Linked DNA regions of Homo sapiens: all the other regions are linked to region 1. Evidence: promoter capture Hi-C in 16 types of primary human blood cells and fetal thymus (Javierre and others, 2016). All regions are on one chromosome and are shown on one strand. Each heading gives the region's core, a stretch centred on a gene start or on the middle of the fragment in contact. The rest is flanking DNA. Distances are from core to core; before and after follow the strand shown.

What was found. Contacts are between HindIII fragments. The CHiCAGO score rates a contact against its expected background, and 5 or more counts as called.
Region 2: a fragment that was not itself captured here is called in contact with the fragment with the promoter of PHF3 in region 1 in 2 of 17 cell types (monocytes and M0 macrophages); the score reaches 6.5 in monocytes.
Region 3: a contact is called between a fragment that was not itself captured here and the fragment with the promoter of PHF3 in region 1, in 1 of 17 cell types (neutrophils). The highest score is 5.2, in neutrophils.
Region 4: a contact is called between a fragment that was not itself captured here and the fragment with the promoter of PHF3 in region 1, in 1 of 17 cell types (monocytes). The highest score is 5.4, in monocytes.
Region 5: a fragment that was not itself captured here is called in contact with the fragment with the promoter of PHF3 in region 1 in 1 of 17 cell types (neutrophils); the score reaches 6.5 in neutrophils.

What each region holds. Positions count from the first base shown.
Region 1 is chr6:63,633,345-63,638,784 of GRCh38, forward strand. It overlaps PHF3 (PHD finger protein 3), which reads left to right and starts at 2,458. Exons shown (of 16, transcript NM_001370348.2): 1 at 2,458-2,806. RefSeq lists enhancers at 1,146-1,683, 2,215-3,035 and silencers at 2,253-2,612, 3,053-3,232. The HindIII fragment of the contact is 3,030 bases long and covers 1,438-4,467 here.
Region 2 is chr6:63,372,739-63,378,353 of GRCh38, forward strand. It overlaps a transcript of LGSN not described here. Among named protein-coding and RNA genes, the nearest start is that of LGSN, 56 kb to the left of the region's middle. The HindIII fragment of the contact is 169 bases long and covers 3,519-3,687 here.
Region 3 is chr6:63,269,016-63,274,665 of GRCh38, forward strand. No RefSeq gene overlaps it. Among named protein-coding and RNA genes, the nearest start is that of LGSN, 48 kb to the right of the region's middle. RefSeq lists a silencer at 686-735. The HindIII fragment of the contact is 7,263 bases long and covers 226-5,650 here.
Region 4 is chr6:63,298,710-63,303,838 of GRCh38, forward strand. All of the region lies in intron 1 of LGSN (lengsin, lens protein with glutamine synthetase domain), which reads right to left. Among named protein-coding and RNA genes, the nearest start is that of LGSN, 19 kb to the right of the region's middle. The HindIII fragment of the contact is 4,384 bases long and covers 196-4,579 here.
Region 5 is chr6:63,320,788-63,326,348 of GRCh38, forward strand. It overlaps a transcript of LGSN not described here. Among named protein-coding and RNA genes, the nearest start is that of LGSN, 3.6 kb to the left of the region's middle. The HindIII fragment of the contact is 2,686 bases long and covers 2,304-4,989 here.

The DNA of each region.
Region 1 (5,440 bases), core at 1,208-3,707:
CACTATGTTGGCCAGGCTGGTCTCAAACTCCTGACCTCAGGTGATCCACCCGCCTTGGCCTCTCAAAGTGCTGGGATTACAGGCGTGAGCCACCGCACCCGGCTGAGTTTGAGATCTTTTGACCCCACTGTTTTGATTCTGTGTTTAAGCATACAAACATTTAAATCTATTCTAAATTAACACGAAAGTACATGTCTACAAAGTGTTTGCCAGAAAAAACTTCATTAAATAAATTTAATATTTTTATTGACTTTCTGCTCATAGGGGTTAATTCTTCCAATTTTTTTTTTCCATATTTAGTTTACTGATTACTGTAGGGACCAATGTTTCAGTGATGACAAGCATTTTTCATATCAAAATTGACTTTTGTGTCTACATTGTTTACTGTCTTCCATGGTCTTAATCTCTGCCAGGCTCAGTTTTCTTGGGTCAATGTTTTGCAAGATCCAAATTTTATCACTTTTCCTTCTTTGATAATTTTTTAGTTAAATACAAATACACTGTCAGTTTTAGTCATTATCAATTACTCTGTCTTGTTTTCCTACCAAATTTAATTTTCCCAAGTTAATTTGGAGTTTTCAATGTTACTGATACAATCTGATCTTCCAATAAGTCCTGTGTGCAGTTATAGCTGTTGCCAGTATTATTATGCTGGTTCTTTCTTCTACTAACCTTTCTATGAATTGGGTATAAGATAAACAGTTCGTGTTTACATCTGGAAGCAAAAAGCAAAGACCATTAGTGGACAAATGTGAATCTGGGCACTTGGCTGGTTCAAAATAACAGAATCAAAACATCATGCCTATGGCAAGCTTGTTGACTTTTTAAGGATCAGAAATCTTTGCTTTGTAAATGTGACAGTCTTATGATTCTTACATTTTCTTTTAATCTCCATTTTGTTTTATCTTAAATTTATTAAAACTTCTCTGAGAAGGTAAGTTTTCCTCAGCCCTTCTAAGGGATTTTCCAGCTAGTGGTCTCCGTCATCAAGTTCTACTCTGTTGAATTCCTTCGGGGTTGGATTTTGTTTATAACAATAATTTTACTTTTTCTGAACGCCCTTTTAAAACGTCACACTGAGATCCACCAGAAGAGTAAGAATAACATTAGGCTTGTTTTTATAATTCATCCCAGACATCCCAAGTGAGAATTAAAAAAAAAAATTACTCATTTCTATTTTCCTTTCTCAAAAACACATTACAAAAAGATTGTAAAACAAAGTCTTGAGGGATTGATTAGTCAAGACAGGGGGTGAAACTCTTAAGAATCCAGTGGAATCAGGACAACCCAAACTTCCTTTGTAGAAGAGCATTTGCTATTAAGAGTGCTTAAAATATCAGAAGACTAGAGAGAGGAAAGAACAGATCTTCACCACATGCCTGTGACTTATTCTTCCACCCTGCACTAATCTTACAATGTGGGCTGCGGTTGGTCTAAAGCTTAAATCAACAAGTACTGTAAAGGTTTTAGAACAGTGCAGACCACACAGTAAGGTGCTCAGCAGGTACTGGCTGAATACTGTAATAGTCCCTGTAGATAAAAGCCACAAACCCTGTCCCTAAGTAGCTCCTTTTGGTTGGAGTGACTGACAAGCAACAATTACTTCACAGCGCTTATTAAGGGCTGAGATAGGGGTTAGCTCAAGTGTCTGTGGAAGCAGACCAGTGGGTCTCAAACTTTTTTTGTCTCTGGACCTCTACACAATATTTGTTACCACAAATAATGTATTTATGAAAAGCATATTTTCCAAATTAATAAAAGGGTGATATCTAAAATTTCTGCAGATTTCCTCAATGTCTGGCTTAATAGAAGATGGCTGGATTCTCTTATCTGTTTCTGCATTGAATCAGCTGCTATATGCTGTTTTGGTTGAAGGGTGGGAAGAAAATTTGGCCTTAGACACATGCTCCTGGCAAAGGAATGGAGGCTCTACTGAAAGGTCTTGGCGACCCCTCAGGGAAACCTGGGACCACATTCTGAAGACTGCTTACTGGATACCAAGAATGTTTCTTGGAGGTAGCAATTTGAGTCCTGAGGTAGATCAGCCATGTAGGGTGAGGGTAACGGAGGTAGTTAATGGTAAGGCTGCTGTGCCGAGCCAGCACAGATATTTGGGCAGAGGGCTCATCTACTCCATCCTATTCTACCATTCTTGAACTCACAGTCAATTAATAAAAAGTACCTGGGGTTGGGGAGCTGCGCATCAATATTATATTAACTGTGAAGCCTTAGTGCTTACTACGGTCGAGAAAAAGCGCTCCTCTGATTCGCCCCTCCCGGCGGCGCGGAGGTGTGAGCTAGAAGCCCGCAGGCGGTGCCGCGTCCTCCGAAGACAGGGAGGGGCGCGGCAACGCCGGGAAGCGCTGCAGCCCGGGGCCCCACGGAGGCGCGGCGCTCGAGGCCCTAAAGCGCGCAGGCGCGGCAGCGACGCAGGCCGCGGCCCCCGGAACGGTAAACAGTGGGGTCACGTGACACGGCCCCTCTCCAGCTCCCGCGCCGCCGCCGCACGCCGATGGCTGCGGGGTCTCGCGCCGTCGCACCGTCCCCACGCGGCAAGCGACCTTCGGGCTCAGGGCGGCGGCGGCTGCAACGAGGATTAGGAGGGCGGCGCGGAAGCCAAGAATAGTGTCGTCAGCAGCAGCCATTTGGTCCCAGGAGGAAAAGAGGCTGTGGCAGCGACGCCGACGTCCTGCGCGTACCCCCTCTCCGCGGCACCCACCGGGCCCCCTCCTCCTCCTCTTCGGCGGCGGCAGCGTCCACCATCTTCCTCTTGCTGCCAGTGGTAGCGCTCGTCTGGCGGAGCTGGGTGAGTTGCGGCTGTGGCCGCGGCCAGGGAGACGGGCAATCCTCCCCTCCCCCATCCCCTTCCACACGCACAGCGCCTCCGCGGGCCTCTCCGCCCCTCCCGCGGCGGACTCTCCGCGCTTTTCTCCCGCGCAGCCGAGAGATCGCCTCTCGGGCCTCTTGCGCAACGTCCTCGGCCTACCTGGGCCGCGCCGCTGGCGCCTGTGGACCATTTGGACCGCGGGCTGGGGAGGGAGTCGCAGCGACGCGGTCGCCAGGCGGAGGGTCGGGACCACGGCCTCTCTCCCGACCACTGGTACCCAGCCGTCTGCTGCGAGGGCGCCCCGCCGCCGCTGAGGCGCGGGCGCGCAGGCCCGAGGCACGGCGGGCGCTGCCTGGAAGGCCCGTCTCGCAGGCCCCCGGATCCGGCCGTTGGGGCCTCTTCCTTCTCAGGGAGCCCCAGCATGGAGCTTTGGGCCTTGGTTTCGGGAAACTGGGACTGGCCCTGGCTGCTAGGCTGCTCCCTGCTGCTGCTTTTTGGAGATGAGAGTTGCTCTTCCATTTATCCTCCAGTTACCGCGCGCTTTTGTGCCCGGGACTCAAACTGTGGACTCCTTTTGCTTAGTTTGAAATGAGAAGCCTAGACTCTTGCCTTCCGATAATACATGTAATTTAATGAACCACTTGTCGATACGTACGTGTTAATGGTGCTAAATAACTGATCACCTGACACGGGGGGCGGGGGCGGTGCGGAGAGTAGAAAGGAAGAGAATGTTGATATCGCGCACGGAGTCCTGTGTCCCTCCTTTCCCTCAGGATGTGTTGCCGGGTTAGGTGACCTTTTTCCATCTTTGGGCTTTTAAATGCCAATTCCTAGAGACTAGATTGGGGTGGTTATTAGTGCTTTCCAGTAGTCACGCGTAGAATATGTTCATGGATTAATGTTAAGTGGCAACACTGCTTTAATATTCTAGTCCTAATCTGCATTACATGTAGCGATATTTAATTTAAAAAGAATAATCGATTATTGAGGCTTCTCTAAATACTAACTTTACTATCTTATTTTAAGCTAAATTTAAAAACCAATGCAGTAAACTCTGTAGGGAGTACTTAAACAGTACGTTGTTGTATTTAGTTACTATTTTGGGGTCGAACTTGTCTTCCCTTTGACAAAATGATTGTTAAAGGCCTAACAAAACTACGCCTCCATTATTCATTTTTCGATTCCTGAATGAAGTGTTTGGAACTGTGAAAATATTTGTAGAAAAAGATGTATGTTTGTGTTAGAGCGACATGTTGAGTCAAAGCACCAGAAACTTTTCTATTGTAGCATACTTATGTTTTTGAATTTATAGCTCCCTTCCACAGCACAAAAAGGTGTTGTGTAAAGATTATTGTTATTTTAAATAGTAATTTTAAAGTTTAGTTATCACTTAGACCTTTTCCCCACTAATTTTTCTCTTCATTCATCTGTTTACTGGCTATATATTACCATAATGATTCTTTCCTTCATCATCGTCATTATCACTGTTATTATTATTTTACAATACATACTTCATTTTCTGGTGATAGTAGCAGAGTTTAGTGGCAGACTTTTAGGAGTGATGATTCCTCTGATTGAGCCACACAATCAGTCCCGAAACGGGCTACTTTTATGTAAAAAGATTACAACTTTAGATTTTAAGCTTTTTCAGATAGCTGTACTCGGTAATTTGTCAAAATGATAAAAATGAGCCAGTGATGGGACCAAAGTTTGCCTCTTATTTACATTTTTTATAGGTTCATTTATTGAAGAATAGAAAAATATAGTTTATTTTACTGCTTTTGCATACACGTGAATTATGCATTCTCTCTTGTTGGGATAGACTTCAGATAACTTTATCATGTTGATCTTATGGTATACTTATATGTTGCATAATCAGAAAAGTCACCTCTGAGAAGTGGTCTATGTAAATGTAGGTAAAAAATTGGTTTGGTCAGATGCACATTTCAAGATAGAAAAATCGAAAGGAATTTGTCTTTAATCATTTCAAACTATGTTATTAAAATTTAAATTTTATTGAGTATTGGAATCCACTAGGAAAGTTGACAGTCTTTGACTTATGTAATGTATTACTTATAAAAGTTGGGAGGCAGCAAGTGGCAATTTGGAGTATTGCAAAATCAAGAGCTTAGATTTTTTTCATAGTATAAGGCCTACTTGGAAAAACTGGTGAATGAAAATTATACATACAATTCTGTGTTTCAGTTACTGAAATAGATGATGTTTATCTTCCTTAACATGGTGGGATGGTGTTTGCTTTTTTGATACATTTTGCCTTCTTAAGATCCATTTAAATTTCTCATAAAATCCTTTTTACATATGTTTTTTCTGGAGATAATAACTTTTCTGTTTTTTAGTGAGATAATGAGATTTTTTGGTCAACATTTAGGTTTGTGTATTACCAATACATATTTCACCACACAGTGTCAAGGAGTTCAGGATTCTTAGGGTGCTGATTTCTAACAGTTTTTATTCATCCACATTTCAAGAATTCTTTCTGACAAGTGGCTGCTGGATTTTTTTCTTTTCTGGAAAAGTACATCTTGGGCTCTGTTTCTCTTATTTCTTCTTGGAGCACTCTCTCAGAATTCTGGAGTATCTTTTCAGAAGGAT
Region 2 (5,615 bases), core at 2,353-4,852, 260 kb before region 1:
TAAGACACCATAATTGTAAAACATGCCATAATGTACTAATAAAAAAGAAAAAAACAAACCATGACAAAAGGCTTTCCTAACACTAAGAATATTCATTTATACTTATTTTAAAAGTTCTTTTGTACTTAATTATATGTAGATTTTTATTATACATCATTGTGTGCACATACCAAAAAATTAAGGTAAATAAATTGGTTATTTCTTTCTACAATTTTTTACATCCAAGTCTAACTTTTGGGCTCAGTCTCATGTTTTAATTTATTTCCACAAAATATCCTCTGTTACATTAACTGCACTGGTGACACAGCATTTCATAAAATAATCTATCAAAGAACCAAAGCCATTGGTGCTACTTGAGACTATGTAAAGCTGGCTGACATCCCTTTGACTCCCAATGCAAGCAGCTTGCAAACACATGTGACTCACCACCTCCCTTACCTCCTCCACAGCCATTTTGTTCCTATGGTTTAGAAGAGTGCTCAATTAAGAAATGATGAAAAGAAAAAAGATATTTAAGTGAGCACAGAGTTTCTTCCTACATGATACATGTTGATTACCAAAGGAAAAATAGTAACTACAGTGTGGAGGAACCTGGTGACGTCATGTTAACCCAGTAATCAAAGTTAACATCAGTGATAAGACAAAATGACATCATCAGGTAACTCCTAATATGCTACACTGAAAATAAATATCTGTGATTTTCCTTACCCGCTTCTCCTCCACCACAGAAAGTATAACCTGAATCTAATCATGAAGAAACATCAGAACAAACTCAAATTAAGATACGTTTACAAAATAACTGGCCTGTAATCTTAAGAAATGTTAGGTCATAAAAGAGAAGGAAAGATTGAAGAATTTTTCAGATTAAAGGAGACTAAAGAGACAAGACAATTGAATACAACATGTGACCCTGACGAGAATTATTTCTTTTGCTAAAAAAGGGCATCTGTGGGGCAGGGAGTGGTGGCTCATGCCTGTAATTCCAGCACTCTGGGAGGCCAAGGCGGGCTGATCAATTGAGGTCAGAGGTTCGAGATCAGCCTGGCCAATGTGGCGAAACCCAGTCTCTACCAAAATTACAAAACAATCAGAAGGCTGAGGCACGAGAATGGCTTGAACCCAGGAGCTGGAGGTTGCAGTGAGCCAAGATGGGGCCACTGCACTCCAGCCTGGGTAACAGACAGAGCGAGACTCTGTCTCAAAAAAGGCCAGGGTGGGGTGGCGGGGGAGTGGCATCCATGGGACAATTGACAAAATTGGAATGTCTAGATAAGAATATTTCATCAATGCTAATGGACTAATTTTGATGTCTGTACTATGGTTATGTTAGAAAATGACCTTATTTTTAGAATATACACATTGAAGTATAGTATTATTTAGGTGTAAAGGGCATTGTGTCTGCATGCCCGAAACTTACTCTCAAATTATTCAGAAAAAAAAACACCAATATATATTACTTAGATACAGATAGAATGGTAAAACAAAATGTGGCAAAATGTTATCTTTGATGCAAATTATTTGCATCATTTTTTTCTGAAAGTAGGCAATTATTTCAAAACAAAATGGTTTCAATAGAGCGCCATGATATTTTTCTGACATTTTCTTTGAAATAGTTGATACTCCTTCTGCAAATTTTGTTGACAGTGCTTCTAGGTTCCAAAAAGAAGGGTAACGCCACTACAGCACCTTTGCCATCTGACCAGCAGCAATTCTAAGATGTCATTGATTCTAAGATGCATCTCAATTCCCAAGATGTTAAAATGAACAAAATACATCACTTAGGATCATAAACACATTTTAGTTGGAATAGACACATTTGAAGACCAGATTTGAACAATGATCCTCCCATTTAGTATCAACATTAGTTTACTACTGCCACTGTAACAAATTAACACAAATGTAATGGCTTAAAACAAGACAAAAGTGTTGTCTTATGGTTTTGGAAGTCAGTTCAAAATGGATCCACAGGGAGGCTGGAAAGTAAAATGGTTTTTCTTGTCTTCCCCAGCTTCTAGAGGCTGCTTGCATCCTTGGCATGAGGCCCCTTTCCGTTATTGTCTTCCACAGTATCCCTGATAACAAAACCTACACCTAGCTCAGGTATTACATGTGCTACTCCTGAACATCTCCATCTCTTGCTTAAGGAAATATTGCTGTGCAAGTACAGTCTTGTAATAAAAGGAAATTGTGACTGGAAAAGAGAAAAAAAAAAGTTGCTGATAATAAACATGTTAGGAAAACCTGATCTTGGGAAGACAGTTTGACATTTTGACACAAATGTTTCCTAATTATCATGGGAACTCTGTTTAGGCTATAAGACTCTATTGTTATTGATGTCATTGTTGATTTTCCGGGGCAATAAGAAAACATGTTATCAAGAATTAATTCCGTTTTTGTTTTTTAATCATTTTCTTTTTTAACCATTGACTGAGAGATACAAATTCTAGAAATTAAGGAATTCCAGAATTTTAAAATTGGGTTAAATATATCCAGAGCTGATAAAAAGCAGTATAGAGTGGCCAAAAGAATACATTATTGGTGGTCCTCATAATCAATTTGACTTTCTGTAATTGTATTAAATTAATTCTTACACATACATATATGTATATATTAGAAGAGTGCTTGACAACAATTGTATAAGTGTTAGCTATTATTACTATATATTTATATTTATATTATTATATAGCAATTATGATCTTTCTTGGCAAATATTACTACTAGTTTGCACTGAAATTGCAAGAAAAGCTGGATCATAAATGGAAACATTTTTTATTCAGATTCCCTAGGTTGATATATGAAGCAAAATATGAAAACACTTATTTATGTGGATATGTATATATTCGTCTGTACTCACCATCTACTTTATTAGTTGTTGGAGAGATTAGAGAGTAATGCATTTAAGGCAGTTTGCCTTTGGCTGGTACATTATTTTTAATAATAGGTTTTATTATTTCTCAACTTTAAGAAACTTTTTAAAGGGTCAAGATAATGCTGAGTTTGGAAATGAGATAAGAAAAACAAGAGAGAAAGATAGCATGTTAGGAAGTGAGTAGAAAATTACTTCCTTTAAGTGAGATAATTCCCTAATCAAAAATATTGCCTATGATATTGATAATAATTGCTAATGTTTTTTGAGCATATACTATGTTGTAGGTATCATGATAATCACTTTCTACATATTATCTTGTTTGGTCCTTAGAACCAAATGAAGTGAATGTTGTATTATCTTTATTTTGCCTAGGGATTAAGTAATTTTCTTAATGTCACAAATTAAATATAATAGTACTGAATGATATCAAACCCAAGCAGTCCAAACCCGTTCTAACACACTGCTATGCTCTCTCCACGATATATGATTCTTTACTCCACAGACCTTACTTCATACCAGATTATTTTGCCCATGTTCCCCCGATGCTTGCTAATTGCGCTTACATTTTCTGTGTTTTGTCTCTCTAACCATTCCTACACTCTTCAAAGGCAGAGAAAAAGCTTTCTATTTCTTTTTTACTTAACCCAAAAGCTTATTAAGGGCAGAACACAGAACGTTTCTGAAGAAACACCCTGGGCTCACAGCAGAGAGCAATGCAGATAATAAACACCAGGAGTACTATCTAAAACCTAAGAAACATCAAAATTATACCCTTTCCTCACTTTTCTTAATCAATACTTTCTATTTATTCAGAGCCAAGCTTACAAAGGGTAAAGATTGCCTTGATGAAGAGCAAGCCCTCTGTCTACTGATGCTGACATCTAGAAAAATCACTATGCTCAGATTCAATATTCTGCACTATAGCTCCCTAATAGACTCAAACAAATGGCAATGGATACACTCAGCCTTTTCTGAGCTTCTAGAAAACATTCACCTATTGCATTTCTCTTTAACTTCTTTTTTAATTATCTGACTGCCTCTTACCTGAGCCCAGTAGAATTTTAAATATGAGAAAGGAATCATCAGAGAATAGGCTTAAAATGAAAAAAGGAAATAGGAAATTGTATTTTATTTGACTTTTTAAAACTCATCTACTTTCAGATTGAGTCAGTTTGCTAGCTAAAACAAGATTTTGGGGTGAATAACTTTTACTAGAACATACAAAGTGCATTTTAACAATGGTCTACATTCACAAGTGGCCACTATTCTTGTCCAAACACAATTCAGCTGAGTGTTCCTAGGCTTCCAAACCCAGAACAAAGCAGAACAAAAGAAAAATATAGTATTTGAAGTGCCTTGCTTGTGCTTTTCTAATCTAAACAGACTGCTCCCATATTAAGAAAATTACTTTAGGTGCAAATGATACCTCAAAAAGAAGTAGATAGATATGCACTGATTCTTTTTGACATTATAATTTATAGCTTAAATTAATTTTAGACTAATTTTCCTCTTACTTAGAGCAAAATATTGCTAAGGGAACAGCCTGTCTTCATCTGACTTATAGTAAACATTTGCCACTTAGTATTCTGAAACCAGCTGGCTTTTTTAATCTTTGGCAATAGACGCTAACGTATCCTTTATGAATTATGGCAAGCCAATAGGCAGAGAGCAACCCAGAAGGTGTAAGAGGTCTAACAATCAACCAGGCAATAGAATGGGGGTTGGTAACCATCAACTGCATGCCCTGAAGGCAAATTTTCCACAGCTTTCCAGATGCTGCCATGCTGCCTCCCTCACTCCACCTTTTGCCCCAGCTCTCCAAACTCAGCCCTGGGGAGTTGGTTCATTCAATCCTTCAAAGAAGTGCAAGGATAAAGAAGCAGGAAACTAATTACCTCATGGTGTGATAAGTGCAGGATAATTCTATAGAAAGAACACCTAACGTAAACCTAGAAGATCAAAATAAGCTTCCCAGAGAAAGTGATGTTCTGACCAAGAAGAGAAGAAAAGAGTTAGACACTTGGGCCAGGCACGGTGGCTCACACCTGTAATCCCAGCACTTTGGGAAGCCGAGGCAGGAGGATCACTTAAGGTCAGGAGTTTGAGACCAGCCTGGCCAACATGATGAAACCCCATCTCTACCAAAAATACAAAAAATTATCAGGGCGTGGTGGTGTGCGCCTCTAGTCCCAGCTACTCAGGAGGCTGAGGCAGGAGAATCGCTTGAACCCGGGAGGTGGAGGTCGCAGTGAGCCGAGATCGTGCCATTGCACTCCAGCCTGGGCGACAGAGAGAGACTCCATCTCAAAAAAAAAAAAAAAAAAAAAAGAAAAGAAAAAGGATGAATAACAAGAAAGAAAAACAGCCTTATTGCTGATATGGAGAAAGGTTTTAGTGGTCTAGGTAGAAGATTAAACCAGATTTTTGAAAAAAAAAAAAAAAAAGAAAAAGAGACACTTGAAGAAGAGATGGAAAAGCAATCTAGAAAGAGAAAAGTATTTGCAAAGGATGACAGGTAAGCATGACCAAGGAACTGAAAGAATTTCAGTTTAGCTGCAGCATCTAATGAACACAAACGCTTAGGGATCTAGAGTAATGGAGACAACATCTCATATCCGCAACAATAGAAACATCTGGCTTTCTTGATCACCACAGCAGGGGAACAGACATCTGAATGACTTTTATATACTTCAGTCTAGAAGTGACACACATCACTTCTACCCACAGCCTATTGGTTAGCACTAGT
Region 3 (5,650 bases), core at 2,607-5,106, 360 kb before region 1:
TGAAGAGAAGCCATGAGGATTTGTAGTACATGTAGGGTCTAATTCAAATGCTCTTTGCAGATTTCAGTCAAGACATTTCTTTATTCTCCACTTGGCTTTAGGCTTCTGTTAATCTAACCCATAGCATAGTTTTCAGTTGAAGTGTTGAGTAGTTAAATCATACAATCACTCAGTGTCACATCTTAAGAGGGATGTCCAAAGAAGCTTAATATAATACATTTGTGAAGCTTCTTAGCAATAGGATCTGACTTTGTATGTAGTATTTTTATGTAAAAAAAAAAAAGGAAAACAATTAGTGTAACAGATTTGTTGTTATAGGTAAAAAGGACATGCTCATTTAATGGATGGGGGAATTGTGGCTCTAAAAATTAGAATACTTTTTCAAGAACGTGTGTCAAGAACATTGAGAGACAGACAGCAGGCCTGCTGTGTGCCACAGTATGTGGAATGATGTGAAGCTGTAGCTGAAGCAAGCTGCCAAGCGGGCCTCCTAGGTCCATCATTGGATAAAGGACACAACTGAGGCTAGAACACCTACAGTGCCAGAAAGAATTGAAGTAGCACTGAGATGGCAGAAGAGAGGGAACTCGAGGATGCCCTCACCATGTGAAGAGAAGAGACTGCATGTCTCACTAGCCCTCCTAGCCTGAAACAATAGGCGGCAGCAGATGACTAATTACCAGGTGTGAGAAGGGACTTCTTCTAGAGGGAGGCCAGTGAAGACTCTAAAAATAGTAAAGAACCAATATGTAGATTTTTAGGCCAACAGAGTGAGGAAGAGGTGATAAATTAAACACCGATGTGTTGACTTTGAAATACCTGTGGGACATTTGAGTGGATGTACACTTTGAGAAACTAACTTGACAATCATTCGCTTATAAGTAAAAATTGAAGGTATAGGCTTTACTGTCAGCATCATTGGGTTTTTATGCCATCCCACCAGGACTTCCTTTGCCTGACCCATCCGTGTTATAATAGAGAGAAAAGCCATGTTCACACAATGTGACATGTCCCTTCCAGGCCACAGTTCACTGGATGAGGAGTCAGTGCATTGCCCACATTAAACTAATGAATTTAGAGTTTGGACTAGAATAGACTAGCTTCAAACAGGTTGCTTGTTCAACATAAAAGATGTAAATTTGGGAAGTTGTTTCAGCAGCCATTTGCCATCATGTCGAGAAAGAAACAGAGAAAGCCAGTCTAAAGCAGGAGTGAAAGGATGATGCTGGCATGAGGAGAAACACAACAGAGGTAAGAACAGATAGAAAAGATGTCCTGGGTTATCTACAGTGCTTCAGTTTCAGGTTAGATTCATTCCTAACACCTAGACACATTGAAGGTCTTAGAGTCCATGAGGCACTCTTCTATCTCAACCAAAAAAATTCCTTATTTTGTTTAATCAGGTTCAGTTTGATTTCCATTACTTTAAACCAAGAGTCTTGGCCAGGCACAGTGGCTCATGCCTGTAATCCCAGCACTTTGGGAGGCTGAGGCGGGTGGATCACTTGAGGCCAGGAGTTCAAGACCAGACTGGCCAACATGATGAAACCCTGTCTCTACTAAAAATACAAAAATTAGCCAGGCATGGTGGTGCGTGCCTGCCATCCCAGCTACTTGGTAGACTGAGGCAGGAGATTCATTTGAACCTGGGAGGCAGAGATTGCAGTGAGCCAAGATCGTGTCAGCCTGGGTGACAGAATGAGACTGTGTCTCAAAAATAAATAAATAAACAAATAAATAAATAAATGTCTTAATCCATGGAAAATAATAGTAATAATAAATAAGATGTTGTGGAGACAATTTTTAGAGGGAAGAAAGGACCAAGAATGGAAGGATCTTGAATAATATTCAACATCGAATTTCAGGCAGAAAAGAGGAATTCACAAGACATTGAAAAGCTGAGAAGTGGCCAGAGAAAGAACATCTAGAACCTCTAGTGCCTTTCAAGTCAAAAGAAAACCATTTTGACAAAGAGGTAGAGGTCAGCAATTTCAAATTCTGTTTACTCGTCATAAAACATGAATGAGAAATGTCCCCTGTATTTAACAAGTGGAAGGTTATGATTAACCTTGGTGAGAACAGTTGAAGGGGACTGGTGGAGGTAGAAACGAAAATATTTGGGGGCAGTGATGGGAAGCTATGAGGAGTAAATAGAGGAAGTAGAAAGAGCAAGGACATGTAACTTAATCAATAAATTTGATTTTAAAGACAAGGACAGAAGTGAGAAGGGTACTTCGGATTAATAGATTTTTTTCCGTGTGTATGTGTGTGTGTATGTGCGCGCGCGTGTGCATTATGCACCTTGCAACCATGTCAATGTGCTTAAATTCTGATGGGAAAGAAACACCAGGAGAGGAACATACTGGAGATACAGTAGAGATTGGGTACTCGCATGAGAAGGCCACAGGGGTGGGATCCTGCCAACAATGAGAGGCACCCCTTGCACTGAAAGTTAAGAGAAGGAAGAAAAGTGCTAAGTCTGAGATAAGACGCCTGTTCTTTGTCAGGGAATTAAGGAAGTGTGGCCACGGGACACAGCACTATTAGAGTTAGTTGTATCTGCCCTTTGCTAGCCACATTTCTTTTCCTTCTTCAAGTGCTGGGGACATGGGACCTTATAACCCTTGCCATCCAGTGAGAAAGGTAGTTGGAGCCAAAGAAGTCTGTGATCCAGCCCAAGACTTCGCATTGCTTGATCAATGGCATCCTCCTCTATGCTGTTTTGTTCTCTCCTCACCACATAAATTCTATCCTCCATCCATAGACATTTAGAAACATTTGTTCTCTCACTTAAAGTTAAAAGCTCTTTGTGGGAGAAAAACATGTATTGTCCAGTTTTGTATCTTCCCCTTCGTAACTTACATACAAATGGCTCTCAAAAGCAATTATTTCAAAAATTGAATAAAAATGCTACCTAGTGTCTAACTTAAACAACAATTCATTATCTAACAATCCTTTTTCACTTCAAACACTGAAGTATCATTTCTGTTTACCTCATAAAAAGTGAATTGATATATATGTTTTCTAGTGATCACAGAAAGAAGACACTTTGTAGCATTTATTTAATTTGTAGATATTGTAGAAGCTCTTATAATGTGATTCATTTTAATGAACCTCCAAATAAGTAACAAATTACTGGATTTTCTTTTTTTCATAGTTTATTAAAGATTTCTTCTTTAGTTCTTTTCAGACTTATTTATTTCAAATCTATTGTAGAGTCATCCAAAATTTAAGACATTTAGATTAATTTTAGGCATTACAGAATGCAGCTAATGTTTCTATGGTTTCATATTTCTACGTCTCTTGAATGTACCCTTAAATATTGGTAATATCGTATCCTGTCAACACTCCTTTCCCCCCCCCTCTGATATTGAGCCTGTATTTAATATCTATTAACCTAAAAATATTCAAATGCAAGTCATGTGATTGGGAATGCCTTTCTGCTGTTAGTATTTCTAATACATTTTTTCAATTTTCATTTATTCAAAGTAACTAGATTGAAAATCCAATTACTTTTATGTTTAATATTCAGCTTTGCTCTGAATTCTGAGCCAACACTGTTTAATGGTACGTTGCTGCCCTCTAGCTTATGTTTGAAAAGTTTTCTATAATGTAACAATTTATCCAGTAGTCTCTTGGATATGCCCAATACATTGATATTCATTTGTATTTAATGAATCCTATATTAGCAGTTTTATAAACATTAAATTTTTATAGTTATTAATTAAAGTGTTATTTTTCTTTCCAGGTAAAACTGATCTTATTAATCTTAGGAAACATCTTGAAGAGACAAGAAAACCTTTGTTATGTCATTGTGTAGCAGGTTCTCAGCCAATTTCTTTTTCCCTTAATTTACACATTTCGCCTCCATATAGGTTGGCTATTTTCAAAAATCAGTGTGTTTTCTTATCTTTTATTTCTTAAGCAGCCAGAGAGAAGTATCAACTCTTTTATGCTCTCAATGAATGCAGAGTTCTTGTCAAAGAATATTTCTAAAAATGAAACAAAATAAATTGATTGGCACTATTTCAAATTCTAAGGATGGTCAGAAATTTCAGCCAGGTGTTTTTTGTGTTCAAACAAATTAAGAAACTACTTAAGGCTTGAATTACTGTTATCTGACCAAAGTTCTGAAATAATGTTATGGCATCATACTTCTTTGTCATAAGACCTTCTGGCCTGGATAGAGTTATCAAGCATGTATCTACTACCTACTTCTGTTCATTTTAATGCCTAGAAGCCTTAAAACTAAAATGTAATATTCAGCAAAATTTTCAGTATTGTACTTAGCTGAGACTGTAGTGAAGGGCATTCTGGTGTAGCACAGAGACCATGAGACTGAAAGTAGAAACCTGGATTTGATTCCTAGTTCGTTCAACACAACAACTTTTTAGGGTCTTAAATCTCTTGTTTTTAAAAATAATAAGTCTACCTTTCTCATAAAATTGTAGACAGCATGAAATAAGGAAATGAATGAGAAAGTGCCCACACGATGTATGTTATGTACTAAGAGCTTAATAAACCTTTGTTTAATCCGTATCTAGTATAAACATTCAATTGTTCCTAGTCTTCTGATTAAGAGTAATTCTCTGCCTTTCTTTCTTCTTCTCTTTTATCAAAGTTTTCTTGCTCTTCGCGTGTCTTTTTATATACTGTTTTTCAGTCAGGCTTCTTTTTAAAAATTCTAGCTACTTTAAGAAAAAAAGAAATTTATTTAAAAAATATTAGATATTTAATAGAATCTCGGAGGGCCAGAAAATCAGGTTCAGAAGAACAGGCTTGACTGTTCCAGAGACCCGACAGCCACTGGCACTGGCAATAGCACCACCAATGCCCCCCCACAATGCCACCCCAGGATGGCACCCATGGATGCCTGTCGCTGCTGCCTCCCTCAAGCTCAGCAGAGTGGAGTCCATGTTTTATGACTGCATCTGATTGGCAGAGTCCTTGTACCATGGTGTGTCCGGAATTGGTGGGTTCTTGGTCTCACTGACTTCAAGAATGAAGCCCCGGACCCTCGCGGTGAGTGTTAACAGTTCTTAAAGGCGGCGTGTCCGGACTTGGTTCCTTCTGATGTTCGGAGTTTCTTTCTTCTGGTGGGTTCGTGGTCTCACGAGTGAAGCTGCGGACCTTCGCGGTGAGTGTTACAGCTCTTAAGGTGGCACGTCTGGAGATGTTCGTTCCTCCCAGTGGGTTCGTGGTCTCGTTGGCTTCAGAAGTGAAGCTGCAGACCTTCGCGGTGAGTGTTACAGCTCATAAAGGCAGTGTGGACCCAAAGAGTGAGGGCAGCAAGATTTATTGCAAAGAGCGAAGGAACAAACCTTCCACGGTGTGGAGGGAGACCCCAGCGGGTTGCCAGTGCTGCCTCAGGCAACCTGCTTTTATTCTCTTATCTGGCCCCACCCACATCTTAATGATTGGTAGAGCACAGTGGTCTGTTTTGACAGGGCGCTGACTGGTGCGTTTATAATCCCTGAGCTAGACACAAAGGTTCTCCACCTCCCCACCAGATTAGCTAGATACAGAGTGCCAATTGGTGCATTCACAAACCCTGAGCGAGACACAGGGTGCTGATTGGTGTGTTTACAAACCTTGAGCTAGATACAGAGTGCCAATTGGTGTATTTACAATCCCTGAGCTAGACACAAAG
Region 4 (5,129 bases), core at 1,138-3,637, 330 kb before region 1:
CTTATAAAGATAATTTAAAATTATAGTGGAATGCTCCAAATAAACAACACCAACACCACACTTTAAGAACTGCATTTAAAAATGAAGGCTCCCAAATTAGGCATATCCAGGGACACCTATTGATGTGCAGAACATTCTTAAAAATGTTAATATTTCTATTGCCTCTTTTAAAAGCCTTTCAAAAGGCAAACAAAAAGCTTAAGCAACTAATTGATAAGAAAAATTGAATCTGCTAATCTTTTGGCTTAGTTACTATCCTGCCCCAAAGATAAAAAGAGAATTATATAAAGTGTTCATGAAAGGTAGGCCCTCAAGTAAAGTAGGCTTTTTTCTTTTTCAGAGCTATCCATACCGAGTCCACACATAGAGAATTATTTCCTCGCCTTATTAATTAATGGGCTCCAACCTGAACTCAGTAATTTTAGCTAAAAAATAGTGGCTAACTTAAAAAGACTGCCTATTGAACTAAATTGGTCTCCAAATTCACCTTTCTGGCATTTAGCTGGCTATTTTGAAACATATCTGTAAAGGAAATTTACATCTATAAAGGAAACCTCCATTTTTAAGGGTGTCTGCCTCTGTGCAGCAGGAAGAGAGGAAAGACTAAGTTACTAGAGACTCTTATCATTGACTTACATTTATGTAACAAGTCTCCTCTAAAGTACCTTTTCCTATCCATCCTGTCTTAACTGGGCATTTATCCACATCCTCCCTCCTTGATTTGAGCAAAAGATGGTACAATATTTAGGTCTAAAGTCTCAGCTGTATGCATTTGAGAGATAAAATTTCTACCTTGTTTTACCTAAAAGTCATCCTTTTAGAAGTGAAATTTTAGGGTTTTCTAGCTAACAATTGCTTAGAACAATGAAACAGGTAATTGGAATATTGATAGTCTGAATTGGGGGAAAGAAAAACTATTTGGAAACTAGTAAATGAAAAATTTTTCTGAAAATTTTAACTTCTGCCCTTGTCCGTGTCTGTCTATATGTCTGTAAGTGTTATGTGTATCAGATATTTCTTTCTGATCTTATATAATATTTGTCAAATGAAGCAAGTTTTTACATTGTTGGCAAAATAAAATAGGAATGTCTTCAGAATTGTCAATACTAAATATAATTCAGACTTTTTTTTCTGGGTCTACTGGTCAGAAAGGTTTATGCTGTTTTTGCTATATGTTTTAGGGTCATAAAATTGCTGCTTCTGTCAAATTTTGATACGTGCTTGATTGTCTGTAAGCTGACACTGAAAAGGCTGGCTACTGGGTTCCCCTGAAGCCTTTCACACATCTTACTGTGAGCTTATATCTTTGATTTTGAGCCTTTGAATTCTGAGGCCTGGAGAGGTGGTCATGGTGAGGCCTGGAGACGTGTATGTCCACTGTACCTGGGCCACTAGCAGCAGGACACAGCCAAGCCCACTATGGCCCTGCCCTTCCTCCTCCAGCTTTGCCTGCTGGCCATGCTGAGAGGGGTTGGATCCTCCAGACATCCTTTTCATAGCTCTGTCCTCAGTCCTTGACTCTACACCTGGTGTGTAAATTAGGGACCCAGATGGGCCCTGGCCTTCCTAGCCATCCTAGGTGCCACTCAGGACATTAGGGAGAATACCTACGTTATTTTTTCAAAATTATTTTCAGAAACTTAAAATCTTAAAGCTGCGTTAAATTCAGAAATAGGGAAAGGAGCAATGGCTCATTCCTATAATCCAAGCACTTTGGGAGACTGAGGTGGGAGCATCACTTGACCCCAGGAATTTGAGACCAGCCTAGGCAACATGGTGAGATGCAACTCTACAAAATATATAAAAATTAGCTAGGCACGGTGGTGTGTGCCTGTAGTCCCAGCTACTCGGGAGGCTGAGGTGGGAGAATGACTTGAGCATGGGAGGCAAAAATTGCAGTGAGCCAAGATCATGCCACTGTACTCCAATCTGGGTGACAAAGCAAGATCTATCTCAAAAAATAAAAATAAAAAATAAGAATAAATTCAGAAATAAATACTCATTAAATATCTGAGTCATTTCTAAGAAGTTAAAATATTGAAGTATTAATTATTAACATAAATTTATGCCTTAGCATCTTATTTGTATATGATATTGAAAATGTAAATATATTTAGATCTATTAAAAATAATTGAGGAAACATCTTTCTAAACAATTATGAAATGGTTTTTATCTGCAGATACTGATATAAAACACTTCAAAATCATTAACTTCCTAGGTTTTACACTGGAAGTTAGAATTACTAAGAGTTAAAATTTAAGTTAATATATGTAATTATAACTACTAAAGTAAATAATTTAGCTGGCCACGATGTCTCATGCCTGTAATCCTAGCACTTTGGGAGGCCAAGCTGGGAGGATCACTTGAGGTCAGGAGTTGGAGACCAGCCTGGCCAACACAGTGAAACCCCATCTCTACTAAAAATGCAAAAATTAGCCAGGCATTGTGGCACACATCTGTAACCACAGTTAGTAGGGAGACTGAGGCAGGAGAATGGCTTGAACCTGGGAGGTGGAGGTTGCAGTGAGCCAAGATTGCGCCACTGCACTTCAGCCTGGGTGACAGAATGAGACTCTGTCTTAAAAAAAATAAATACAATAAAATAAATAATTCTATATGTAAAGTGTACAAGAAAAGCAAGATTGTTTTTGATGAGAAAATTAAAATGTGTATTTGTTGAGAAAAAATAATTTTGTCTAGTTTAGAGGTTATTTAAAGGTTCTTTCAAAATGAAAAAATTATATAAATAAAATTAAATGGATATTCAAGGTTGGGGGAAAATAGAAAAAAATGCAAGAGGCTATAAAAAGGATTATGGAAATCTTGTGTGTTCAAAAGCTGATTGAAGGTGAATGTATTTGTTTATAAGGTTTTCTTAAAATTAGCAGTAGTATTGATTATATACTAACACAAAAGTAAAATTCATAATTCTCTGCAGAGTTCACAGGGGAAAAAAGTAAAATTCTGTTTTCTCCTTTGAATAAGAATTTATTGTAGTATTAATAAGAGTGAAAGATGTTCGTCCACCTTTTGAGTAAAATGCAAAGAAAAATAGAGGAGAGACAGATTTTGTTTTGTGCTGTCTTTATTATGTCTTTTGATTATTTGGAAAACTGAATCTCCTCTTCATCAACGAATAAGGATTTTTGCTTTTGAAAACCTTTTAATTATCAGTTAGGCTAAATTAATTACTATTATTTTGCCGTAATCTGTGATTCTATTTTGATAGTGTTTAAAACCTTTGGCATATTTGATAGGCTTCCTAAAATCAAATTTCAAATTCTAAAATTAACTCTTTTTTCCTTCAAACTAACTTTAGGATGTTCCAAAAGGTCCCTGAAGCATCCAAAAAAGAGACAATAAATAGGCTTATTTGATATGTTAAATAAAATGGAAAGCATCATAAAATAAATGGTACTTAACATTCTCTGAGTTATATTTTATGAATATATTATGAATATGTATTTCAAAATTATATGTGACTCCTAATATTCTGATATGTCTTAGTATATGTTATCAGCAATAATTATGTTTATTTATGTTAAATTATTATAGGATACAGAAAGAGCCAAATTTCCTTGTCAATTGCATCTTTAACCATAACCATTTTAAGTCTTATTCACAGTTTATTAATTCTGATGAACTTTCTTAAAGCTCATTACAATCAAGTAAAATCCTAAAATGTTGTGTCCTCAAGGAGGTTCATGGAAAGGTTTGAAAGAATGCTCATAAACACTCTTGAACACAGGTTTCTGATAACTCTAGAATGATATACATTTGGACGGGATAGGAATACTAAAAGCTCTAATGAAGAAGTTGACCAGTTTATAAAATTGCCAACTTAAGTAGCACAAGAACTAATTGAATACCAAGGAAATACTTTAGCAGATTTCCATGCTAGATCAGCCAGTACTGATGTTGTTAAAATATGCAATTTGAATGAGGTTCATGGTTCAAGTCAAATTGCCTACAATAACCCATTTGATAAGCAGTGCTATGCACCTAAATTGAAGAAACGAAATTTGTATTTAAGATAATATGAATTCATTGTCGAGTGTGGACTCATGGAGAGTCTGGAGAGCTGCCTGGTCCTTCTCAAGTAATTAAAACTGCCATCATTGAAAGCTCTACACTCAGCCAGGCATGGTGGCTTTCGCCTGTAATCTCAGCACTTTGGGATGCCGAGGTAGGTGGATCACTCGAGGTCAGGAGTTCGAGTCCAGCCTGGCCAATATAGTGAGACCCCCATCTCTACTAAAAATGCAAAAATTATTCAGGCATGGTGGTGAACACCTGTAATCCCAGCTACTCGGGAAGCTGAGGCAGGAGAATCGCTTGAACCCAGGAGGCAGAGGTTGAAGTGAGCCGAGATTGCATCCAAATTATATTTTTAAAAATATACTGGTGTCATGACTATTCTAAGTTGCCAAAGTGGTTTATTTTGCTTTGTCAAATCCATAATCCTAGGAAGACAAAAAAAACTTCAGGTACATTTTTGCTACTTGATGGGCCATTTGAACATTTACAGATGGCTTCTATTCAATTGTCATTTGTAATGCATGTTTTCTAGTTATATACAAGCTTTCTCATGCAAGAAGGCTAATGCAATAACAATAGCTAAAATAGCTTAACGGTTATCAAGAAATGTGTTTCTCTCATGGAACATTCCTAGAGAAATCTCCAACAATAAAGGTACTTGTTTCACTGGACAAGTTGTAAAACATAAGGTGTTACAGCTATAATAGCATTAGGCAAGTCTAACTGAATGGACTGAATTGTCTTGGTCAAAGGTACTGCAGACTGATAACAATCAGTTCCTCTTCCAATCAAAACATGAGTTGACCATTTATGAAATAGTCACTGTAAGGCCTCTAATAATAGAACCTTATGTATCTTCTGCACCTAAATTCTTATATGACTAAATGCTACAATGCAGGCTTCAATGCATTGTGCCAAAGTGTATTTTCATTAGGTAAAAGGAGCTTTTTATGATCCACTGACTGGGTACAGTCAAACCCTTCATGGTCTAAAACTTAGAGACTGGGCCTTCTGGAAACACCATCAGAGAAAGACTTCCCTTGCCACTCACACTGCAGTAAAATACTGGGACCTTGAACCTTGAGTCTGGC
Region 5 (5,561 bases), core at 2,397-4,896, 310 kb before region 1:
ATAGTCTCCATGGCTAATCACTTCTTCCTGGTCTTCTGGGCCTGAGGAAGACCAAGCCAATACTTACAACCACTCAATCCTGCCTGACTCTCTTGGCCCATTTCAAAAGCCCCATTTCCTAAAGACAGTGATTAACTATTCCTATTTCCATTCCATTGGTACTTGTTCCATGACTGACTCTAAAGCTTCTGCTCTGTGTAGCCTGATCTACAACCAGATCTTGAATTTGGACCTAGTTCTGATGCTGATGCCAGCCTGAAACTGCATCCTGAATATGGCTGTTTTGGACTCTTGAACCTCCCCAAGAAAAGGGATTCTATCTCCTATCCTAGTATTTGACTTGCTCTTGGTGCTTTCCCCCAGATCTCTAGTAGGGTGTTTAATTCCCACAATGTCTTGTACCAGAGCCTTACCTAAGTTTTTCTCAATCCTCTTCTGAGACCACATTTGCTTCCACTTTTACAACTTTTTCTTGCATGTGCTTGTCTCCATGCAAAACAGGTGCCATTGAGCTATGGAAAAAAATGTTTTGTGAAAAATTTCGTTTTTGTTTCAGAAATGTTCCCTTTCCTATATCAAAGAAAAGAACTCCAAGCTGGTTTACATGTTCAGTTACATATTGGGACATGTTTTAAAAAAATCATTCCTTTATAGTACTACTTACCCAAATTTTCTCCTGGGAGTTTTATTGTTATTGAATATGCAATTTGATTCATTTCATCTTCTTTTCCTTACCTTATTTTGACAATCTCTTCTTCTCAATGTGTATCCATGATTTTTTTATAATATCCTTTCCTGAACCTTGATTTGCCCATTTTTGTAAAAAGTGTTCTAAAGCTTGGTTGGACATATGGTGTATAACCTAATTTATGGTATTAGCATGATACATATTTTAAAAGTATTACCATTATTTAGAATCAGTTTTTCCAAAGGAAAAACCAAATGTCAGTAAAGGGCTTAACAAATAGATTAGAAAAATAATAAATGGTCAATAAGTCCATATTAAACACTTTCATTCACAAGCATTTGTTCAATCTGTACTATATCCAGAAAGCTATCTTAGTCAAAATGAATATAGTCATTGAGCCATGAATGTAAATGATACAAGTCTTTCTCTTACCACTCTTCTGAGACAACATATGGAAAGACCGTTCAACTCAAGTACTTCTCCTGCCAAAAAGTTGTAATCTAATTGAATGGATCCAGAGAAGAGTAACTAAAATGATTAAAGGAATTATGGGATTCATTTCATGAGAACAGATTGCAGAAGCTAAAGCTTACTAAGTACCAACAAGGGGAAACAATATGTTGTTTACCACTAAGTTACTGCCTTCTGATGAATTATTGAACAGGATTGGAAGAGCAAAGGATGCAAATTAGGTAAAGGATTAAATCTATTCTTTCACTGTGGGAGAAAATGAAATCACAATGAATCTGTTTTTGTTTCATGTTTACATATATTATATGTTACAGTACAGTGTATAAAATACAAAGTTCTTGTCTTCCCAGCACTAACTGATAAGGAAATAGGGTGAAAACATGCCCAATGAGACCAAGGGAATAACTGACTTGTGAGAATAATAGCCAAGTTCAGTGAAGGAAATAATCTTTCTTATGACCTTCATGAATCACAAAAATATGGTTTCAGGTCAGCATAAGAACATAACAACCACGACAGAAGGATACTTCCACCCTACCTTTCTCCCGATTTGTTGTTGTTCTAGAAGCTGCATGGGTTTGTTCCTCCTTTATATGCATCTAATTATGACATACCTAACAGGAAGACTACATTGACACCCTTTATTGAAGATAACATCATACAAAAATTATAAGGAGTAATATTTGAGCTTCCCTAGTGGTTCTAGAACTCCTGTTCACAAAGGCCCCCAAAAGTTCCTTTCATGAATCCAGTCCCCATTTCTTTTCAGTTCTTCCCAGAAATACCTCATTTTCTAAGAAAATGGTAGATCTGTTTACAGAATTAAGATTTAAAACCGATGATTAAAAAATATTGGAGTGAGGACAGGTAGAAAATCAGTGAATTCAGGGCTGAGCGGAAACACACATTGGCAGGGAAACTGAAGAATATTTTTGTGTGTCCTTTTCATTTGTTTCAGAAAGGGAATTTCTCCTCTCATCTGCCCCTTCGATAAACCTAAGTAAGCAATGAGTAGAAAACAGCGTAACTCCCTGAAAAAAATTATTTTGTAAAGTTGATACAATTTAAAACTAGTTTAAAATCATTTTAATTTAGCATTTTCAATGATTTTCACATATCCTTAAGCATTTATATATTTAGCACAAGCTTCATAAAGTTAAATGAAGTCAGTTGTGAAAGTGGAAGCATGAAATTCTGAATTCCAAGGCACATAAGGAGCTTGCAATCACATATAATAAGTTAAAAATTATTCCAAAACAGCCCAAGCTATTTTTAGAAGGAGAGTGCCACAGAATACATTTCTTTTTATTTGTAAGATTTATGGAGTCCAGGTGCAGTTTTGTTACATGAATATAGTGCATAGTGGTGAAGTCTTGGCTTTTAGTGTAGCCATCACCGGAATAGTATACATTGTACCTGTTAAGTAATTTCTCATCACTCATCCCACTCCACCCTTTTGAGTCTCTACTGTCTATTCACAGAAGACATTTTTATAACACCATTAATTTTAAAAAATTGGTAGCTGGTGTTGTCCTTGTTTCCTTCTTTTAATGGCATCATTCTACTTATTGTGATAATATCTACAAATTCTTGAGAGCACCAAAACCTCATATACACACACACACACACACACACACACACACACACACACACACACACAGGTTATGTTAATCAATATTAGCATATTTAAAAATATAATAATAATGGGCATTGTACATATTAACATAAATAGCATTTTTTATAGAAAATTGATTTCTTATTTTCACAAATTGCTCTAATGTCTAGCTTAAGAGAAAAACCACTGGAATCTCGTATGTTTTTGCATTCTTTTTTTTTTTTTTTTTGAAACACAGTCTGCTCTGTCACCCAGACTGGAGTGCAGTGGTGCGATCTGGGCTCACTGCAACCTCCGCCTCCCGGGTTCAAGCAATTCTCCTGCCTCAGCCTCCCAGATAGCTGGGATTACAGGCACCCGCCACCACACCTGGATAACTTTTAGTATTTTTAGTAGAGACAGGGTTTCGCCATGTTGGCCAGGCTGGTCTGGAACTCCTGACCTCAGGTGATCCACCTGCCTCAGCCTCCCAAAGTGCTGGATGACAGGCGTGAGCCACCGCTTCCGGCTTGCATTTATTCTTTTGATACAGCCCATGTCATGCAACCTCTGGAAAACTTCACTATACACTAATGCTAGATGAGAATGAAAAGGCAAATAGAGTCTTACCATTACTGTGAAAATAATTTTGACCTCACAGTCTCCTCAAAGGTTCTTGGAATCCCTAGGGGTCCCTGAACCATACTTTCAGAACTGCTGCTGTAGTGAAACAACCAGCAGATTAAAGACTTGAGTTCTATAGGAAACACTGTTTTTTAAAGACATATCACATAGTTTTCTTGATAACAGTTTCCTTTTGTGCAAAATGTGGTTTAGGGCAAGATGATCTCAGGTTTCTCTTAACTCTGTTCTGTGATTGTGTAAGATATTAAATGAATTTTATAAAACAACTGAGAATACACATTGTCTTCATGAGCACATGGAATATTCTCCAGGACAGACTATATGTTAGGACACAAAACAAGTCTAAACAAACTTTTAAAAATTAAAATTATATCAAGTGTTTTATCAGACTCCAATTAAATAAAACTAAAAATCAACATCAAGAGGAACTTTGGAAACTCTACAAATACATGCAAATTAAACAACATGCTCCTGAATGGTCACTGGGTCAATGAAGAAATTGAGAAGAAAATAAAAAAAAATTTTTTGGAAACAAATGAAAATAGAAAAACTACATACCAAAATGTGTGGGGTACAGCAAAAGCTCTGCTAAGAGGGAAGTTGATAGCAATAAACACCTACATAAAAAAAAAAAACAGGAGGCTGCACATGGTGGCTCATGCCTGTAATCCCAGCACTCTGGGAGGCCGAGGCGGTCACATCACAAATTCAGGAGATCAAGACTATCCTGGCCAACATGGTGAAACCCCGTCCCTACTAAAAACACAAAAATTAGCTGGGCGTGGTTGAGCGCCTATAGTTCCAGCTACTCAGGGGACTCAGGCAGGAGGATCTCTTGAACCTGGGAGGCAGAGGTTGCAGTGAGCTGAGATCACACCACTGCACTCCAGCCTAGAAGACTGAGTGAAACTCTGTCTCAAAAAAAAAAAAAAAAAAAAGGAGAAAATTTTCAAATATATAATCTAATGATGCACCTTAAGGAACTTGATTAAAAAACACAAAACAAACAAACAAAAAGAACAAACCAAACCCAAAACTAGTGCAAGGAAAGAAATAATAAATATCAGAGCAGAACTCAATGAGATAGAAACTAATAAAATAATACAAAGGTTCAACCAAACACATTGGTTCTTTGAAAAGATAAACAACATTAATAAATCCCTAGCTAGACTAACCAGGAAGAGAGAAGATCCAAATAAGCAAAATTAGAAATGGAAAAGGAGACATAACTGATATCACAGAAATACAAAAGATCATCAGAGACTGTTATAAACAATTATACACTAACAAACTGGAAAATCTAGAGGAAAAGGAGAAATTCCTAGAAACATAGAACCTACCAAGATTGAATAAGGAATAAATAGAAAACCTGAACAAACCAATAATGAGTAGCAAGGTAGAATCAGTAATAATGTGTCCGGAATTGGTGGGTTCTGGGTCTCACTGACTTCAAAAATGAAGCCGCAGACCCTCACGGTGAGTGTTACAGCTTTTAAGGTGGCGCATCTGGAGTTTGTTCCTTCTGATGTTCAGATGTGTTCGGAGTTTCTTCCTTCTGGTGGGTTCGTGGTCTCGCTGGCTTCAGGAGTGAAGCTTCAGACCTTTGCGGTGAGTTTTACAGCTCATAAAAGCAGTGTGGACCCAAAGAGTGAGCAGTAGCAAGATTTATTGCAAAGAGCGAAAGAACAAAGCTTCCACAGTGTGGAAGGGGACCCGAGTGGGTTGCCACTGCTGGCTTGGGCAGCCTGCTTTTATTCTCTTATCTGGCCCCACCCACATCCCGCTGATTGGTAGAGCCGAGTGGTCTGTTTTGACAGGGCACTGATTGGTGGGTTTACAATCCCTACAATCCCTGAGCTCGACACAAAGGTTCTCCACGTCCCCACCAGATTAGCTAGATACAGAGTGTCCACACAAAGGTTCTCCAAGGCCCCACCAGAGTAGCTAGATACAGAGTGTCGATTGGTGCGTTCACAAACCCTGAGCTAGACACAAGGTGCTGATTGGTGTGTTACAAACCTTGAGCTAGATACAGTGCCGACTGGTATATTTACAATCCCTGAGCTAGATACAAGGTGCTGATTGGTGTGTTTACAAACCTTGAGCTAGATACAGAGTGCCGATTGGTATATTTACAATCCCTGAGCTAGACATAAAGGTTCT